Linked DNA regions of Homo sapiens: regions 1, 3, 4, 5 and 6 are each linked to region 2. The links are contacts of gene promoters, found by promoter capture Hi-C in human tissues and cell types (Jung and others, 2019). All regions are on one chromosome and are shown on one strand. Each heading gives the region's core, a stretch centred on a gene start or on the middle of the fragment in contact. The rest is flanking DNA. Distances are from core to core; before and after follow the strand shown.

Region 1 (3,529 bases), core at 934-3,433, 600 kb before region 2:
TTTTTACATAGCATACATATCATACCATGATATACATTTGAAGCTATGTCTAATTTCTGTAACTTGCTTTTTTCCCTTCAATAACATGTTGTGGATATCCTTTGTGTCAGTATGTGAAAATTCGGTCTAACTAGAGACATTTAGGGTGCCTTCAGATTTTTCTTATATAATAATGCTGAATTAATATTCTTGTGAATGTATGTGTATACATGCAAACATTTATACATACATATACACATATACATAACATATGTGTGCATATGTGTGCCTGTGTGTGGATGAGAAAGAGTCACGGTTAGAGAGAAAGAGAAAGTTTACATATGCATTTAGGCAAGATAGAGTGTTTTGGATCAGAATATATATAATTCAAGTTTTTTACAGAGGCTGCTAAATCCTACAAGGAGATTGTACCAATTTACAACCTGCAACAATATATACAGGGCTCATTTTCCCCTTCTTCTAGCTCTGGATAATATCAATCTTTAACTTTTGCCAACTTTAAGGAAAAAATGGTATTATTTTATTTGTGTTTTTTCAATTAGTAATGAATAATAGATCACCTTTGTATAAGTTTATTAGCCACTCATATTTCACTTTCATAGCATTTCCTGTTCACATAATTTGCAAATGTCGATTTTCGAATCATTTCTCATTTTCTTTTTAATTTGTAGAACTTTCATTAATACTAACGCCTTAGTGATTAAATACATTATATCTTGGTCTTTCGTTTGAGTTTTAATTTTGTTTACAAGGTCCTACACAAGTTTTTTTTTTTAATCTTTTAAGTTTTAATGTTGTCAAATCAGAATATGGATTTTATGATGAAGAAAGGAAATTCGGAAGGAAAAGTGACTTGCTCAAATTTATTCTGCCTTTAATTGGGAAAAGATTTGAACCGAGTTGTGTTTTTTTAACCCTATACCATTTCTCTGTGGATGTTATCATGGCCTTAGTTATACATATGTGCCTGAAAAGTGAGTGTGGTTATAAATTTCCGTTTTAATTACTGGGCTTCTTGGCCTCCCTTCAGTTATCTCCAACTCCTCTTCCCACTCCCCTTAAAGGAAGTTTTCTGCCCATCTTTCAAAACTCAGCTCATATCACACATGTATAAAACTTTCCCAGATATTCTCAAGTCAGCCTTTTCCTGTTCCGTTATTATATGGTGGTGGTATGAGCCTTTGGGCAGCATCTATCAAAGTCTCTTTTGTGAGGCAGGTTTTTATGTCACGGCTCCCTCCTGCCCTAGAGAGTGAACTTGCATGAGTTAAGAGCCTGTGGTAGATTAATTGCAGTCATCAGCAGAACTCCTACTGTAACCATGTCCTGGTAATGTATTCTTCACATCAAGAAGTGGATACTCTTTCTCCGGCCCTTGAATCTGGAATGGCTTTGTCACTTGCTTTGGCAGAAGAAAGGACCTTGCCTTCACATTCCGCTCTCGGTACTCTCTTGGTCCCTACCATGGACACCATGGAAGAAGCCCATATTTGCCTGTTGAAGAATGAGAGACCATGTGGAGGAGAATTGTCCCAGGGGAGGCCATCCTAGACAAGGCAATTCCCAACTGATCTATCAAGTAACAGCAGACGCATGAGCAATGGCAGCTAAAATCTGCTGAGCCTATCCCAGACCAAAAGAAACTGTCAATCATCCTATGCATTTATGAGCTAAGTAAATGTTTATTGTTTCAGCCACAATTGGGTGCTTTGTTACACAGCAATAGATGACTGGTAATAAGCCTTTCTGCGGCAAATTAAGCATGGTCTCATTGAGCACAAGTAAGAACTAGTTCCAATGTCTTATTCATTTTTCAATCCTTGAAACATAGCCTAGCACATTACATTGGACGTAGTAGCTGTACATAGCTGTTAAATTCAATCTCTTCCTTTAACTGCAATGGATAATCTGAATACTTGCCGGGATGCTTTTGGTAGGAACATCCTATTTTCTCAAAGCCAGTCAGACTCTGGCCACATTCATAATAAGGAAATTTGGAATAAGCAAAAAACATCATTGAGTGTCTCCAATAGGAAATTATTCACTGTTTAGAAGACACCTGTCTGGGTAATCTGATCCTGGCCTTGCATTGACTTTGAGCTGTGTTACAGCTCCGTAAGTTGTGGAGAACTGATGGCAATGCAATTGATTTTTGTCTACGAGCATGCAAACGAATTCTATCCAGTGGAGAAACAACATTCCTTCACCCACACTCCCCACCCACCATCACACTAGCATCATCACTACCACGGAAAAGCCAGTTTTGCATCTGTTTGCAAATTCATTTCAATATTCCTGATCCATAAATGTGACTGTTTGAATTCTCCTTTGACCCTGTTATAGCATCTACCTTGTTCCTTCATCTAATAGCATGTTATATAAAATCGTTGACGTATGTTCATTTTTTATGTGTATGAGTGTTGTAATTATACCTTTGTTTGAAAATTATATTTTGACAGTTTGCAAGATACTTCCAGATGTCCAGTGGATTCACCTGTCAGAGCTGATTAACGTTCACTGTCAAAGGGTGAACTTCATGACAGCTTAAGCCCACGCATGTCATTGCTTAGCTCTCAGTCTGAATCAGATGAATCTGAATTGGCACAAATACTTTGCTGATTCTCCTCTTTTCTGATTTTAATTTTCTTCTTTGCTTTATTCTTTGTTTTTGCTTTTACTGTGTCTATGGCTAATAAGTTATTTTCCATGGGTGGAAATAATGACTTGGGAATTTAGTTTTGTGGTCAGAGCATTTGGTGATCTCTGGATGTAGATTAATGGTCGGTTGAGATCCAGTCTCCATTAGGTGAGAGATGACAGAATCTGGCTTGCTAGTCATTATCCTTTGTCTGTTTGTTTATTTTTAGTTCAAATCAAATAAGACTTTTTTGCCTACCAGGAAGGGGAACAGCTCCTTGATAGTCAGACTGGTGAGCTTTTGTGTTCTGGATTTTCTCTTGATCTTTGGCTGAAATTATAGAATAGAAGCTTCAAGTTTTCTACGTGTCTCCCTGTCTACACGTCATGTCTGCAATTCAGACAAGACTTTACTCTAAGTGCATATGTAATGTTTCCATATTTCCCAAGAATATTAATAAATTATATTGTAAGGTGTCTTAAATGAAAGGAATTCTGTTCTAATTGGTTTATAAAGCTAAATATGTATATGTGCAGATTAAATGTTCCTAAAATTCCCAAATGTAAGAAAATTAAATTTCTAATACTTTAAATTTCTGATACTATTGTATACTTACAAGAAAAATATCCTTACAGAAATAACTCAGAAATACTTTAGTAACTGAATTTCATATAATTAAGGCAAATCTTTGGCAAACAAGACTAGTTTAATAATTTTTGTTTATTAAAAACCACTGTATCTTCTCTTTTCTTCCATGTCAATTATAATACAAGCAAATATTTTTATTATGCTTGGGTATATTTTCCTAAACTTATACATTCTATTATGTTTAAATTATGAAAAATGTAAATATAACTTTATGTTTAACTAAATTGAATCATTTTATTCTCA
Region 2 (3,482 bases), core at 294-2,793:
GCGCCGCGCTCGGCAAGTGCCCAAAAAGTGGAGGCGAGCTTCGGCGCCGCCAGGCAGCCTCGGACAGAACACCTCCCCACCGCCCTCCCCCCACCCCGCTTTCCGGCTCTGCGCCGCCACCTCGTCCCGGAAGGCTGGGGCGCGGCCCCCTCCCCAGGGCGGGGTGCCCAGGGGTCCCAGGGACTGGCCCAGTCCAGTGCCGGGTCCGCCCGGGCTGTGTCTCCCTAGGCCGGTGCTCGCTGCTGCGCTCAGTGTGAGCCGCAGCCCCTCCCCTCCCCCCGGCCGGAGCTGAACTCGGAGCCCAGGCCGGTCCCCGCTCTCCGCCCGCCCGGGGCTCTGCGGCGCCACCGCTGCCGCCGCCTCCCCGCGGAGTGACGCGCCCTGCAGCCAACCGGGGCAGCCGGGGGGGAGGTCCGGGAGGGGTCCTGGGCGGAGCCGGGCCGCCCCCTTATCCCACGGGCTCGGGGCTGCTTCTCCCGAAAACTTCAGCCCTAATTGTCCTGGGAATGTCCGAGGTAGAGAAAGGGAGCGAGGGAGCAAGCAAGAAGCTGGAGGATCAGTGCCCCTGGCGGGGAGGGGATGGGGTGGCGGGAGAACTGCCCCTCCCCCCAGCCACAAACCCATCAGGTTCCCAAACCTTTCCTGGATCCTCTTCTCCGCGCCCCCGCGAGCCCGGGATCCAGGGGATGGAGAACTCGGGGCGGAGGAGCGCCGAGCCAGGCGGGAGGGAGGCCGAGCCGTGGGCGGGAGGCGGACCGGCGTGGGGCTGGCTCTTCCCCACTCGCTTATTTTTTTTTTTAATGGGGGTGGGGGTGGGCTGCTTTCTGGTAGCTCTTAAAGAAACGAAGAAACACTCACGAAACGGGACGCCCTCCCCCCTGATCCCGCCGCGGGACTCCCTCCCCCCGCGGGCCGGCGCGCCTCGCCCCCGAGTTGGGAAGTTCGCAGCGCGCCGGCAGCCCGGGTCCCCAGCCCTCGCCGCCCGGCCCCACCCCCCACCCGGGGCGGCTCAATTCCGGGGAGGGCATGCTAATTTGGGTCGGCCCAGCCCGGGATTGTGGGGGGGGGCGAAGGAGGGAGGGAAGAGGGAGGGGAGAGGGAGAGAGCGGGGGGCGCCTGCCGGGGCGCCGGGCCCGCAGTGGAGAGGAGGCCGGCCCCCGGCGGCCGGGCCGCGGAGTCCCGGGCGGTCGCAAAGAGGGTTAACCCAGTGTCGGGCGGCGCGGCGCGCAGAGCCAGCCCCGCGGCCGGCTTATTGGGCCAGCGCGCGGAGAGACAGGGGTCTGCAGCAAATCACGAACTAATTGATTAAGGCGAGCGGGTTTGAATAGCGCTGGCCCGGTGCCAATCGCCTTTCAAAGAGCCCCTCTATGATTAATCGCAATGCATTATTGATAATCATAATTATAGCAGGACACATGCGCGCTGCGCCCGGGGCCGGGGAGCCGGGGAGGGGGCGGGCGGGCCGGCGGGCGGGGGGAGCCGCCGCCGCCGCCGCCGCTCGATTTCCGTAATTTTGAGAAGATTTTTTTTTAGTAATTTTTTATTCTGCCCCAGCTGATGTTTGAGCCAGCATGTCGCGGAGGAAGCAAGCGAAGCCTCAACATTTCCAATCCGACCCCGAAGTGGCCTCGCTCCCCCGGCGAGATGGTGAGTGCTCCGGCCCGCGCCGTGGACACACACACACGCACTCACACTCACGCACACTCGGACCCACTCACACGCGGCTGGCCCCCGCGCCCCCTACCTCACCGCCGCCGCGGCCCCGATTGCTTCTTCCACTCGGCGTAATTTTTTTTTTCTTTTTAATTTTCAATGTGCCTTTGCTGGGCTTTCCCCCGCTGCCCCGGGGAAAGCGAGCACATCTCCCGGCAGGATCTTTCCGGAGTTGTTGGGTCCTCCCGGGGGAAGGAGGGCGGGCATGCCGGCCTGGCTTCTCCGTCCCTGCTTTTCCGGGGATCCCAGCCGCGGCCAAGACCCGGGAGCCCCATGAGGCGTGGGTGCGGGTGGAGGTCGCCCCGGCCTGACCGCACGGGGCCCCTAGCGCTCCCGGCGCCGGCCCCAGGGCACCCGGCCCGGCCTCCGCCGCCCGGCCTTGCTGCCAGCGGTAAGGAAGTTTACTTCGGGCGCTGGGCTGAACTCCGAGCGTGGGGGAGTTCGCTGCGCCCCCCTGCCCCCACGCACACTCCCCCTCGGCCTGCGAGGCAGAACCGGGTGTCTTTGGAGGTTCAGAGCTGCAAGAAGATGGGGACTGGTGTCGGGGCGCCAGCGCCTGACCCGCTGGGGTTGCGGCCGGGGTGGAGAGTGCTGCTGGCCGCCAGTTGTTCCGGAGACGGTGCAAACGGACGGGGAAAGTGTCGGGGTCTGGCTCGCAAAATTTATCTCCGCATCTCTTCCCACAACACTTGCACCCTCTGCCCCCCAAAATCTTTCTGGTCGGTATGCGCCCTCTGCGGATCGTGGTGCTCCCTACTTCCAGGGGGGTCAGGGAAGAAGTCATAGAATAGTTTTCCAGGTTTGCGGGTGGCCAGCCAGAGTGGAATCCCCCCTGAAACAGGGGCACTTGTTTTCTCCGATGGAGGCGACAACTGTGGGTCCCGAAGGGGCTGAACAAGTCCAGAACAAAGTTTGTGTGTGGGGGCTATGGCAGAGAGTGGAAGAGATCCGGGCAGGGAGTTGGGGTACAAAGGGAGGACACCTGGAATCCCTCCTTGCTCCTAAAGGTGTTTCACGGTACCGGCCTCAAAGCTCCCAGGCCTAGCGCCCGAGGCGGTGTAGCGGCGCCCGGACTCGGGTCCCCGGGTCGTCCCGGCACGATGCTGGCCTCTCGGCTGTGGGAGGACGCACAAGGAGCAATCTCGGCGGGGTCTCAGCGGCTCCGGATGCCACTCGGGATGCCCACGCCCTAGGCGGCATTTTGGGGTGTGAAGGAGGGAGCTGGGCCCCGACAGAGCTCCGAAGCGTGACCCTGATCGGCACCTCAGCCCACTAAGCTGCGGCCGCCCGGGCCCCCAGGTCCCCGGCTCGTTTCCCAGAGGCCTGCCTCTCGGTAGAGCTGGGGCACAGTGAAGCGAAGGGACCCCCGCTCCCTTTACCCCTGATGTCGGGAAAGGGGAATCCTGACTTGGGGTCCCTGTAAAAAAATGGAGGACTTGAAATTAATTAAGAAATGCTTTACAATAGCCCTCCTCCCGGCCCCCAGTGTTTCCTCAAGCTTGAATCCTTACCCACGGCCTCTGCGATTTCTCAGTCCGCTGAAAAGAGCCCCTGAACCCCGCTTTCCACCCCAAGCGAAAGCGAGCACGCGGGGTAGATGGAGGTGAGATGACCCAAGGCCGCAGCAGCTGCGCCGAGTATTTTTCCGGGTTTTCTCAGCTTAGTTTCTTCTGCTTCCCGCAGTCACACTCATCTTTCCTAAAGTTTCTGGTGAGACCTTTTGCACCGGAAAACTGTTCAGGTTAACAGTTTGTACACAAAAAAGCAAA
Region 3 (3,340 bases), core at 765-3,264, 640 kb before region 2:
CTGTAACCACATCAGGTCAATCTGGTTCAATCTTTATGCCACAAAGTGGTGAGTTTTTCAGGTGCTGTGGACCTCCAGGTTGAAGATCACATAACCAGAGCACGCCCACAGGAATCAAGCATGCAACCACAGGCAGAACCTAAGCGTGTAGATTGAGGAGAGGGAACTGAATTTAGAAGTGGACTCCACATGGCAGGATCCAAGAACCAATCAGATTGAGCCTTGTCAACACCCCACAGCAGGGTCCAATCAGATCACACCTCTGACTGTAAAACCTGTTTCAAACCCCAACTCCAGGAGACAGATTTGAGTTCAATTCCTGTCTCCTTGTTTTGGTCACCTGACAATAGACTTTTCTCCCTGCAAAGACCTGGTTCTTTGGTGTCTGGCTTTCTGTTGCTCGCAGGCAACTGAACAAATTTTGGTTCAGTTACAGAACCACAACCACAGTCTTTGAGTGCTTTTCCTAAACCAGCGTGGATTGCAAGTCTTTCCTGAACTGTTAGCCGGTGTGCTCAGGTCCCAGCACAGCCTCAGATCAGGGGTTAGGGGTGGCACTGGCCTGGCCTTAGCACATGGGCTTTGATAAAATGTACAAGGTGAGGGGTGTTTCCTAAAGAAATTCTAGGCAAGAATCATACGTCTACCATTCAGAGGCTTTGGAAGTTTATAACACAGATTATTTTGCATTCTTATGATAACTTAGGACTCTCATCGCTAGCTTAATGATACTTCCTAAATCTCCATTTTGCTAGGGAGGGCTTTTCTCCTTGGTGGTTTTTCATGACAAGAAACCACACTCTCTGGACGATATTCTTCCCCAGTGCTCATCTTGGCAGCTCCTTTTGGGGCTTTGAGCTCTTCTAGGGACCAAGGGCACAAGAACTCCTATTGACAGAGCCCCAGAAGCCACACGATAAAGTCTGATTCAGAGGTTCATAGCTTCTCTGGTTCTGGAATTAATTCACATGTTGCTTGTTTTATGCAGCCTTACCTATTGTGCCCAGTGTCACGAACTGTACTGAAAACTCTTAACACCTTTTAAAACTCGATTCACTTTTGATGCCATAAGAAAGATTGGGCCAATAAATAAGAACTAGAATCCATTTGTGGTCCATTTTGCTAAAGTATATTAAATATCACCTGCAATTTGAACTTGCCTTATAAAATGTTTACATGCCATTAAATAGTCCTAACATCCTTTGTGTAAATTAAGCAGGCTGTGATGTTCCTTATTCCAAGGAGTAGCAGTACTTAAAGCTGTAAACTACTTTCATGCAATAAATCCAATACTTTGCTCCTAAAAGCAGGATTATAAATATAAAAGGCAACAATACTGACCTCAGTGTCTGCACTTGAATTGCTTTGGGAAAACTGGTATAGAAAGAAATATTCTAATTTGGACTCTCAGTCCATTTGTTGATTGTGTTTTGGGCATGTGGGTTCCTGGAAAATATTGTTGTCTACAGATCAGCTTTGTAAAACATACAACTATTCTTTATTAAAAGGACAGGTTCACAAAAATCTATTCAGTCTGCAACTAGCATCTTAAGCAGCAATTTTGAGTGCACCTAAGTAGGTCTCCTCGGTTGGAAGAATTCCATAAAGAGCTTCCTGGTTGAGAAGCACTCAGAAGTCCTGCCTGCACCCCGTGTGCCTTCCACACTGTTGCTTTTTATAAAGCCTCTTCCTTCTCCCTCAGCTGGGCCATCAATGGGCTGTTTTCTTGCAAGTGCTCGAAATTTAATGGAGCTTAAGTGAGACACAGACCATTAACGCAGTATCAATATTTATTTTTGGTTCCCATGGAAACAGATACCAGCCCATGGGTAACTTCTCTTCCAATCTGAACAACAGGATCTTTTGCATGAACTAATATTCTATTTAGTTTCTTGAGGGGAAGGCAGTGGCTTTGAGGTTAATAAACCGTAATTTATTTAATAAACAAAACCACATAGAAGAGGAACTGCTTAACAGGGCCAGACCTAGTGTGTGTGTGTGTGTGTGTGTGTGTGTGTGTGTGTGTGTGCGCGCGCGCGCGCGCCCTAGGAAGGGCAGTTCAGTTTGTGCACCTTGCAAGCCTCGCTCTGCCCTCCCCATCCGGTCATCCTTTAACCTTGTTGCCAGGCACAAGCTTCCCAATATCATCTCGCTCCACAGGCCCTATTTTCTAACCCGTTAATCAGGTTTGAGGCTCCCTGGAAGATCGTGCCCTGCGTGCTAATTGCATTTGGCTTTGTGACAATGTGAAGGACTTTGTAGATGGCTAGGGAGCAAAAGTCATCATATCTTGGCTTGGCTTAATCTCGCAAAGCTACGGTATCAACCGTCCAGTTGTTTTGTGCAGGCCTCTGCCCTCTTCCCAGTGACAATGTAAGCTATTCCTCTTCCTTAGGGAACTGGCCCTAGTACCAAAGGAGTTTGGCAAAATAAAAGGAGCCATCAGGAGATGTGAATTGCGGTCTTGACTCAGAAATTAATTTGCCTGTAACCATGATCAATCCACATATTCTTCCTTCATCTCTAAATATGTATCTTACAAAATAATTGAAGGATTAAATTATATTGTCTCAACAATGCCTTCAAATAATAAAATGTGCAAACATGCTTCTAAGTAATAATCTTGCCATGTAACCCCCTGTCACTTAGCAGCATGAACCTCTTCTGTGGCTTTCCATCATCCTCCATGGAATTGTCTATCCATCTTCCCTTTCATTTTTAATGTCTTCCCTGGTCTCTACTAATTATCTATTAGTCAGGTTTCTTCTTTCTTTCAATGAACTTTTTCTTCTTCACTGAGCTGAATCTTCCTCCAAAGGCTCTCTCCTCTCTCTCCTACATCAACTATTTTGTTCATTCCAAATGATTAGATCTCATGTAACTCCAAATACTCAAATTCCATATTCCAGCTGCCATATTCTTTCAAGTTATATTAGTTTCCTATTGCTGCATATAAATGGCTACAAATTTAACAGCTTGAAACAATACTCATTTATTAGTTCACAGTTCTGGAGGTCAGAAGTCTGGCATGGCATGGCTGAGTTCTCTGCTCAAAGTAAGAGAAGACTAAAATCAAGATATTGGCCAAGTTAAGTCCTCATCCACTGGCTCCAGAGAGAAATCCAGTTACAAACTTATTGACGTTGTTGCAAAAATTCATTTCTTTTGGTTGTAGAACTGAGGTCCCACTTTTCTGGCTTCTAGAGGCTGCCTACGATCTTTCTCATGTGGCCCCTCCATCTTCAAAGTCAACATTGATACACTGAGTCTTTTTTAGGCTTCAGATCTTTCCCCTAGTCCTTCTTCCACCAACTGGAGAAAAATTTCTGCCTTTAAAGGG
Region 4 (3,230 bases), core at 663-3,162, 830 kb before region 2:
CTCAGCTTGAAGTCAGATCCTTCCTCACCACCCCTCATCACTTTCTTCCCACTCTTTCTTGAGGTCATTGTGTGTACATTTTGCTTGTTTAATGGTATGCTCATCACTAAGTTGTGAGCCCCTTTGGGGCTGGTACCTGGTCAGTCTACTCATGGGGTTATCTTCAGTGCAAAGGGAAGAAGCTCAACAAATATTGACCGAATTAATGAATGAGGTGTGTTTGATGCTGGTGGGTCTTTGAGGAATGGCCTTGCCTTTTGCCACATAAATGCAGTTTTTAGGTGGGTGGGGTGTATGGTGGGTGTGCTGGCAATGGAAACCTCACATCAGTGAGGAGATCCAAGAGCAAAAATATCATGCTTCTTCTCAAGTAGAGACTGGGGGTGGGGACAAAACTTCCAGGGTGTACACAACCACGTGCCATGCCTGGGTCAACAGGGCAGCTCATGGTGGGGAAGCAGTGGAAGTTTCCTAGGCACTGGGGGCATGCTGGGTTTAATTCAGGAGCTGATGGGGTTGGCAGGCCTCAAGACTGTTGACGGAGCGCCTGACAGGGATGAGGAAATCTCACGGGTGCCACCTTGAAGAAATGATGACACTGGGGACTAGGGCTGCACCTGTCTCTCTGGTGCTTTCCTACTACATTGGTCCCTCTACTCAAATCCAGATAAAGTGGGAAGACAGACCAACACTGAATCAACTGAAAGTAAGCTTCCATCACTCAGTGAGATGGGAGTCTAAATAGAAACTGAGTTTTTAAAGAAAGTTACATTTCTCACACATCAGTATTTATGAATCGAAATTTCTATTTCTCACATGAACAGTTCCTCGTGGCTGTATTTGCACCACTTGCAAACCACTCATGGATTCCAAGAGTGATGCAGTTATGGGAATAAACTGGAATCCACTCTAATTTATTCCTAAAAGTAATTGTTCCATAAGGTTCCATAATTCAGTTCTTATTTGTCAGGTTACTTGTTAATGTCCATTGCAACATTATGAAAATGTGTTTCACACATGCTGCGAACATAGAAGTAAAAAATAAATTTTGAAGGCACCTGTTGTAATGTTGTAACAGGGAAATACCTGAACTATGAATCACAGGACACGGGTTCTGGTGACAGCTATGCCACCTATTAGTTGTGGGTGCTAGGCAAGTCCCTTCCCCTCTTTGGGCGTCTGTCTTCTCATCAGATGACGGAAGGAAATGAAATGACTCATCAATTGCACGTCATTGTGATAACTGCATACCTGCTGTACTGTTATATATGTAGTGATTTTTCTTTAATTCAACTAAGAATTTGAATATTTCAGTTATGTTGCTTGAAATCATCCAGCAGTAGGATGACTGAACTTTAAATGTCCCTTCTCCCCCTGACACTCTGGCCTGTGCACTGTGATTCTAGAATTGAGAGACTGAGCCATTCCCAAACATCCCGTGAGCAGACAGTCTATTGAGCCCATCACATGAACATAGGGGTTGCCCCCCGTCTTTTTTTTCCAAGGCATGGCTGTAGCTGCAGGTGATTCTTAGATAAATAACTAGAAAATATTTGACAGCCTCACCTCCGTTAAATGTTCTTCCAAGGGATTTCAATTGAGTCTCCAGTTTTCAGGTCATTTAAAGTTTGCTACTTCTAAAGTGCCTCTTACCATCAAGGTGTGATGCAAAGAGTTTTCCATTCGATGCTTCCATTGAAATAAATAAATTGAAATGAAGGCGAGGATTTGTCAGGTTTCCACTAGAGGGCAGCAGAGTAGTGAGAATCAGGGTTCTCAGAGGCTTTGTAGTAGAAGTGTTGACATGTGACTTGGCAATTGAATAATTTTTGATACTGTCCTGACACATAAACACCTAGAAGCAGGTTTTCAAAGGTTATTTGCACACTAAAAGAGGAATTAAGGAAACGAACTTGCATGCCAAAAGTAATTTTCAATATTCTACAAAGAACCGTAGCTTCATTATAAGATTGTTTTTAGAGAATATTCAGCTATCGTTAACTGGATATGTTAAACTTAACTGGCAAACACGCATTCAAAATAAATTAGGCTGAGTGGACCTAAGAAAGTAGATCCAGTGACTAATAAAAAATTTCTGCTGGGATTTGGAGTCTGGCCAACTCACCCAAAAGGAGAAATTGGGCTTTAAGTGATTTTTCTAGATCTTCCAGCCCTGGGGGCTCCTAGGCTTGTGATATTAGCATGGTTAAACAGTTGTGCACATACTGCACGGTTTTGTGTGTGTGTGTGTGTGTGTGTGTGTGTGTGTTATTGTGGTCATTTATTTTTAAGGTATTACTCTACCTTCAGCATAAAAAGTCAGCAAATTATCAGAGTTTATTCCATTGACATTCTCACATCTTGAGAAATAGCCCATTTGTATTATCACAGTTTGATATATTTCCCATTTACTGAGCTTCCTTGGCAAGTTGGCATTTTAATTTAATTATACTTTTTGCTAATGGTCTTTATTTTTCAGTGTCTGTGTGTAAAACGCCCGTAGGTTTGATTATCTGCCCCCCTCCTCTTCCCAGTGCCGAGCTATAGTGCAAATTTATAAACTGACAAAATTCAGTGTAAAATTCAGGAAGGTGAAATTAAGGAATTTGTAAAGAAATCCTGCTTAAATGCTGAAGCCTTTTCCTCACTTGCAGAAGACGGCTCCCTCTTGCATAAGTTTAGTACCTGGCCTTGGTGTCTCCAATAGGAACCCAGAACAGAGGCATGTGGCCTGTGTCCTTGTCCCTCTCTGTGCTGGCTCAGACTCTGTCCCCCTCTGTGCCAGATAAGAGAGAGTTTCTGTGCCAGATCAGAGAGGTTGTCCCTCTGAGCTGACAGAGAGAGGGACAAGGCACAGAGAGGAACGTGGACCTCTAAGAGTTTGAACTCTTCTGAGGGTATCCTCTGAGCACCAAGGGATATAGCAACAATGATAATCGCAGGGTTTTCTTGGCTTATTGATGATGCTGGGAGCTTATGGAGGCTTCTCCCTTTAGAATAGAAACTGATCGTGTAGGGCTGTAGCTTTCCTTGAAGACTGTAGGCTGGCTAGTGGAGTCTGGACCATGGGCCCTACCAGGACCCTAGGGCTGTGTTGGTGTGCATTTAGTAGTAAAAAGGAGCTAATGAGTGGAAATACCCAGACAAGCAAGTACACACATCCATGCTCATATTTCCCACAAGTGTGCACACTCTGTTTCCTTGATCCTAAGATGCTGCTGACTGTAACA
Region 5 (3,106 bases), core at 494-2,993, 750 kb before region 2:
TTAACAAGTTATGCAATCTCCTTTGTAACAACAACCAAAAAGGACTTCAAGAAATATTTATAAAATAGGCACTTTTATAAACTTGTGTCTAAAGTAATCTGGTAGCCGAGAATTTCATGTGCTGAAATGTAACTGTCAAAAAAAAAAAAGGAAAAAAAAAAACCTCCCACCGTAATTTTAGGTAGCTTCATTCAAATGACAAGTCTCTAGGAATGTTTTAGGGAATTAGTGAATTTGAGTGAATATCAGACTCTCCTATTAGAAATCATTGATATTGTTGGATTTTATTATTTTCTTTTCTGTATTATTCTGATCTCTCAGATGCAAGTAACAAAAACTTGACAAACAAATGTAAACAAATATGGAGATTTTTGTTCACATAACTGAAAAGTTTAGGTTATCTGGCTTCAGAGAAGGATATATCCCAGTGTTCACATGACGCCATTAGGATTCAATATCTCTTGCCCCATCTCTTGGTTCTGCTTTCCCATGTACTGGCTTCATTCTCAGGCTGAACCCCTTAAAATGCTGGTCCTCTCAAAGCTCCAAGCTTACATCAGCCTTATAGCTCATACTTTCCATTTCAACAAAAGCCCAGGATGTAGTATCATTGGCCTGTCTTGAGTAACATGACCATCCATCTCTGAATGAGGACCATAACTAGACTGATAAATACAGTTACCTGCTCTAGAAACTCAACCTGCTAAAAGATGTGTTTGACATCATAGATTATACAGAGGTTTGTAAATCTGATTTAGATCATTGCATGACACCCCAGAAAGAAAATCTTTTTGATAGATATTATAAAATGAAACTCTCCTTGGTCATAACCCACCATCACTTTGCTGGTCTAGACTAGATTGCTTCCTTTCACAGCTATAGGATTGGCTTCTATAAACTTTTCTCCTCCTCCGGAAACTAGTGAGGGGTGCTTGTAGAGTCTTAGTGATCACAGATAACAAGACAAGAATAAGGGGAAGAGACAGGTGACTGGAAGATGAGGCATTCCCAATTGCTACATCATTGTGTATTCAGAAATCTTTAAACCTTATAGTGTAGAGGTTTATAATACAGGCTGAGAAATAAGACAGACTAGTATTTGTGTGCCAACTTTATTTTCTAAGATAAACCAGTTAACCAAATCAATAAAATGAAGATACTAGTATCTGCCCCATTAATAATAGCTACTCCAAGTAGGTGTGCCTAACTGTTGGCCAGAGTAGCTATCACTGTCACCCAACCCACCTAGTATTCTACCTTCATGGCCAGCACCCTCTCTCTTTTCCATGAGTCATAGGTTTCTCAAAATGAAGAGGTTCCTCTTTCTAACTTCTAGACTTTATTCTCACAGCACTCCCCAGTCTGATTAAATAAATTCTCAGGCAACCCATGTTCAAATCCTTCCTCTTTCACTTATTAGTTGGGTGACCTTGAGCAAGATGATCACTCTAAGCCTCAATCTTCTCATCTGTAAAATGGGGTTATTCACAGTAACCTCTCAAGAAGGTAGTGTAGCTTAAATTAGGTCGTATCTTTAAATTATTTAGAACACAATAGATGTCAAATAAATTTTATTCGTATTTATCAATTGCTTGCAAACTATGTGCTAGTTCTTGTTTTAAGCACTTTGAGAGTTTTAATTTATTTAATCCTATTATTTAAGATTTACCCTATCATTATGTTTATCTTAAAGACCAAAAAAGAAAGCTTCGAGAGGTTACCTGAGGTTACACTGCTGGTACATGGTAGGAGTGAGATTTAAATCCATTAATTTACTCACTCCATTATCTCCTCCCCTACCTACCTCTTACTGTAAAAAGATGAACTTATAGTCAGAACTGAATGGAGAATGTGATACCATGCCCTATCTCCTTGTGAGGCTTAAGTCCATTCTACTACTCATCAGTATATTTGCCCAGGGAGGTATTTAATTATGGACAAAGGCAACATTTAGTCTAAGAAGTCCCTATTATCTTTCATGCCTTGCTGCAAGCAGTAAAGATGCAGATACCACCATCTCACTGAAGCTTTATGGCTTCTCAGTGAGGAAGGCAACATGGAACCCCCAGTGTTACTTAGCCAGAATGTGGAAAACCCTATGATTTGAATCCAGGACTCTCTGTCCTCAAAGAGTTTGCTTTTTATGACCATGCCATACCATCGTGGAATGCAACGAAGAATGCTGAGAATACAGAGTAAATGTTTTCAGTGTCTCTGTGATATATGTTTTGTGAACCCATGTCAAATTCTTAGCTAAGTGAATACCTCTACTTATTTTTTTCTAACTCACATTGATTGAGCATTTACCATGATCCAGGCAGAAGCTGTATGAACCTTGGGCAAGAGATCACTTTTGACCTCTCCTGCCTGACTTTTGGACATTACCTAGGTTATTTCAGCTTGCTGTAACTCCTACCAGCCTTGCTGTGATGGGATACATTGGTTTGACTTTAGGATATGTTGTTAAAGTCATCAATTATCCCTGTTGGAAAACCTAAGGTTCATGTATCAAGTTTCCATGAAAAAAGAATTGAAGAGTAAAAAGCAATAAAAGGGGTAAAAGCATTGTGGGCTTACTTTCCTCATGGTGGTCATTTTGTTGGAATCATAAGCCTTATTGCAAAATGGATGAGAAAGGTGATGACTAATATCTTAGTTTATTCAGACTACTATAACAAAATATTGTAAACAGTAATTTTTTAAGCCACACAAGTTCATTTCTCATAGTTCTAGAGGCTGGGAAATCCAAGATCAAGGTGCAGCATATCTGGTGTCTGGTGAAGGCTCGCTTCTGCTTCCAAGATGATGCCTTGTTTCTGTGTTCTCACATGGCAGCAGATGGAAGGGCAAAAATTATGAATGCTATGTGAAGCCTCATTTATAAGGCCATGAAACCCATTTACAAAGGAGAATTCCTTATGATCTAATCAACTGCAAACATCCCTACCTCTTAATCCTATTGCATTTGGGATTAAGTTTCCACATGACTTGTGGAGAGACACAAACATTGAAAACATAACAGTTAGCTTAACCAGGTAGTTTAACACATGGTCCTCATCCTCTTACACTTTAGGTAACTTATTAGGCTTGAAAAAAAGTCAATGTT
Region 6 (3,156 bases), core at 226-2,725, 800 kb before region 2:
ATAGAGGCTATGAGGATTAGAGAAATGATGCTGCCTGCTACAAAGCTTTGAAGAACAAGTGGACATCCTATATAGGTTTGCTGATGCTAATCAAAGCACTCAGAATTATGTTGAAAGGATAAAATTTCTCATTATAGCTATGCAAATTTTGCCTATTTATTGCTTTTCTTTTCTTTTCTTTTTTTTTTTTTTTTTTTTTTTGCTTTTTACTGAACAACCACAAAAAACAACAATGGCAAGATGTCACATATGAAGGATCTAGAAAGTTTTCCAAATGATAGAGGGATGAAGTGAGAGAAGATGAGATTTCAGAATATTCTTTTTGCTACTGTGTTTGTGGGGATCCAAGCCTTTGGAGCTGAGAAAGAATGCTGTGATGATCTGTGAAATGGCTAGGGAACTCAGAGGCATTTAGCTACTTTCACCAAAGTCACAGAGAAAGCAAGTGGCGGAGCGGAGCTGCAAAGAGGAGGAGAGGCTCTGGTTTCCAACCAGGCTCACACCTCTGTCTCCTGCCTGGAGCTGGGGTGAGCCCAGCCTCTCTGAGCCAAAGGTTGGCCTGTGAGTTGCACGCCTGCAGCTGGAACTGGCAGACCAACTATGGCATGATTGATGCTCCCTCTGCTTTTGTCATTTATTTGCCTTGTTTTTTTTCCTTCCCCCAACAGAGCTGATAAGGAAGGTTTTGCCAGAGAATCATGTATCGCTTCTTTTTTTTTTTCTATTGACCAGTGAAATGCAGTTCTCATTACTCCAGCCACTTTCCAAGGGTAAGCAGTTTTGCATTATTTAGCACCTAAATTGGGCCTTGAAAGAGACTCGGCAGGGGCCTCTTAATGTTGGGGTGCTATTCTCTACTCTCTTGGTCCCAGCAGATAAACCGTCTCTTCAGGTGTCAAGTCTACGTGATCTGATAGTTTTGCTTTGTTTTGCTCAGGATCCTGACATGGAGTACCAGAATTTGGAAGTTGAAATTTCATTTCCAGAAACCTCACTTTTCAGGCAGTGTGATATGGTCAAATGATAGAATGACCACTGGTAGGGGACAGATAGGATGTGAATCCAGGTTCTGCATATAGTCTACTGGGTGGATTTTAGTAAGTTACTTCACTTTCTCTGGGCTTCTCTTTCCACATCTGTAAAGCTGAGATCCAGGCGGGTGCTGGAGTAACACCAGTGAGGTTTCTGCAGTGTCACATTTAGAGAAGCACGCATGCATGACCCTGAAAGTGAGTGCCCCTTAAACACTGTATCCTGCAAGGCCCCCTGCCTCCCAGTAGTCTGTGCCCTGGTTGAGATGGTTAAGGTAACAACTAACCCTTATTAGGCATTTACTGTACACCTGTCATTACCTCAAGAGCTTTGCACAACAGCCCTGTAAGGCAGATATTATTATTGATCCCATTTTGATAAATGAAAAAACCGAACTAGAGGTGGTTATCCACCTAAGATTACAGAGTTTGCAAGTAGTTAAAGCCAAGATTTTTACTCAGTAGCTTGACACATAGTAGATGCTTAAATACATGCTTGAGGGATGTTTCATGCTGTGGTTGTTATTAAGGTGAACATTCAGCAGCCATGCTCCTCCCCTGAAACAACCAGAATTTTGCTTGGGACCTCAAGTGGCGTCTGACCACTTCAACCAGTCTTGGAGATGACAGATACATTTACAGTGCTGCCGAATAGAGTCATATTAAGTTATCCATCTCTGCCAACTGCTATTCATTGTGAGACCTGCTCCATAATGAAACATTATGGATTGCTTCTTTTGGCTAGAGAATAACTTAACCTCTGACTCGAGATGGAGGTATGTTTTCCATGAAAAGGTGGTTAACAGCCTCCTCCACTCAGCAGAAATACCCACCAAGGATGTGTGAAGTGCCAAAAGACGTATTACATCCTCAAGGTCTGTGAAAGCAAATTCCTCTCAATATATTATGTATTTAATTCCCCATCTGGGTTTCCAGGAATTAAGGCTGTTATTGTACAGTCTAATTTTAAATCTGGAGCTTTATTATTCAAAAGAAATGTCTTTTTTCCCCCTTCTCATGCTCTTTTCCCTCCATCTTGTTCTGTGTGCATTCTGTAGTGAGTTAATTGAGCTTTCCCCACAGGGATTCCATTGCAACTCCAGGACTTGAATATCCTGATAGTCGATGAAGCTGAAAAAAGAGAGATTTTGCAGCCATGACTATATTCAAATGGAAGCTTTTCCTTTCCATGGAGAAGTATAATATGTCTAAGTGAGGTGGTTTTATATTAACTTTGAGTGGATGGAATCAGAGAATGAGATAACACACTGTCTTGTGTCTGTCACCGTCATATCTCTGGCTGCCAGGGTACCTGTCAAGCGCTGGGCCTGGGCAGAGAGTCTGGCCCAAGAGCCCATTCCTGCTTGTCTCATCCCCTTCCTCCTCCTTGTCTGTCTTTCATCCAGCACATGGTTGAAGTCACCCCATATTAGCTGGACATTAACATGGAAAAGCCTAGGCTATGGCACCTTTACACACTAACTCTTTCCTGCCTTCCTAGGTAACTGTGGGGTGTGTTTTGGAGAGAAGAGTAGCTGAAATTAAGTGCTTCCTTCCCCTTCTGTTTACTTCTTTGGAAGTGTATTTCTGCATACTGATTGGAGCTGTCTTTACTTTTTTTCTGTCTTTAAAATAGGAACGTTAATATCTGAAAGTGGTTTGTAAGCTATGAGGTACATGCAAAACAAATAAAAATTTAGAATTATTTTTAAAACAGTCTAAAAGTGTATTGATATAGCACCTAACAAACCTTTGGGGCTTATGCACTCCAAACCCAGCTCTGCCTCCTCTTAGCTGAGTGATTTCCTGTCAATATCTTGGTCCCTTAGATTCTCAGTTTCCTCATCTGTAAAATGAGAATATCTATTTATCTCAAAGATAGTTACGAATGTTTAATGAGGCCATCTACTTAAAGCCCTTTTTGCAGAGTTAGCCAGTTAACTCTTAATGTTGTTAGCAATGCTGATGAAGGGGTTGGGTGTTATTTTTATGCTGTTATGATTATCATTTCTCTCCAAGAGGAATTCCCTCCCTTACCCTGGCCATGCCAGAGTGGAAGGTAACTCCCCTTGTTTCTCCTGCCTTTCATCAGCACCGGGAGCTGGTTACTTGAACTGTAGACTAA

The links. The method cuts DNA at HindIII sites, captures the fragments that hold promoters and counts their contacts. A contact is called where the count stands out against the background at its distance.
Region 1: a contact is called between a fragment that was not itself captured here and the fragment with the promoter of SALL1 in region 2, in 2 of the 25 tissues and cell types used here (IMR-90 fibroblasts and dorsolateral prefrontal cortex).
Region 3: a fragment that was not itself captured here is called in contact with the fragment with the promoter of SALL1 in region 2 in 2 of the 25 tissues and cell types used here (lymphoblastoid cells and mesenchymal stem cells).
Region 4: a fragment that was not itself captured here is called in contact with the fragment with the promoter of SALL1 in region 2 in 1 of the 25 tissues and cell types used here (dorsolateral prefrontal cortex).
Region 5: a contact is called between a fragment that was not itself captured here and the fragment with the promoter of SALL1 in region 2, in 3 of the 25 tissues and cell types used here (IMR-90 fibroblasts, lymphoblastoid cells and mesenchymal stem cells).
Region 6: a fragment that was not itself captured here is called in contact with the fragment with the promoter of SALL1 in region 2 in 2 of the 25 tissues and cell types used here (dorsolateral prefrontal cortex and mesendoderm cells).

The regions. Positions count from the first base shown.
Region 1 is chr16:51,746,488-51,750,016 of GRCh38, reverse strand. All of the region lies in intron 3 of LOC105371257 (a long non-coding RNA gene), which reads left to right. Among named protein-coding and RNA genes, the nearest start is that of LINC01571, 14 kb to the left of the region's middle. The HindIII fragment of the contact is 4,003 bases long and covers 182-3,529 here.
Region 2 is chr16:51,149,331-51,152,812 of GRCh38, reverse strand. SALL1 (spalt like transcription factor 1) reads left to right here and starts at 1,543. Exons shown (of 3, transcript NM_002968.3): 1 at 1,543-1,647. The coding sequence starts at 1,572. RefSeq lists an enhancer at 1,846-2,346. The HindIII fragment of the contact is 9,229 bases long and covers 1-3,482 here.
Region 3 is chr16:51,791,642-51,794,981 of GRCh38, reverse strand. No RefSeq gene overlaps it. Among named protein-coding and RNA genes, the nearest start is that of LINC01571, 31 kb to the right of the region's middle. The HindIII fragment of the contact is 3,548 bases long and covers 241-3,340 here.
Region 4 is chr16:51,981,437-51,984,666 of GRCh38, reverse strand. No RefSeq gene overlaps it. Among named protein-coding and RNA genes, the nearest start is that of LINC02911, 94 kb to the left of the region's middle. The HindIII fragment of the contact is 5,917 bases long and covers 1-3,230 here.
Region 5 is chr16:51,901,803-51,904,908 of GRCh38, reverse strand. No RefSeq gene overlaps it. Among named protein-coding and RNA genes, the nearest start is that of LINC01571, 140 kb to the right of the region's middle. The HindIII fragment of the contact is 4,381 bases long and covers 1-3,106 here.
Region 6 is chr16:51,949,520-51,952,675 of GRCh38, reverse strand. No RefSeq gene overlaps it. Among named protein-coding and RNA genes, the nearest start is that of LINC02911, 130 kb to the left of the region's middle. The HindIII fragment of the contact is 3,631 bases long and covers 1-3,156 here.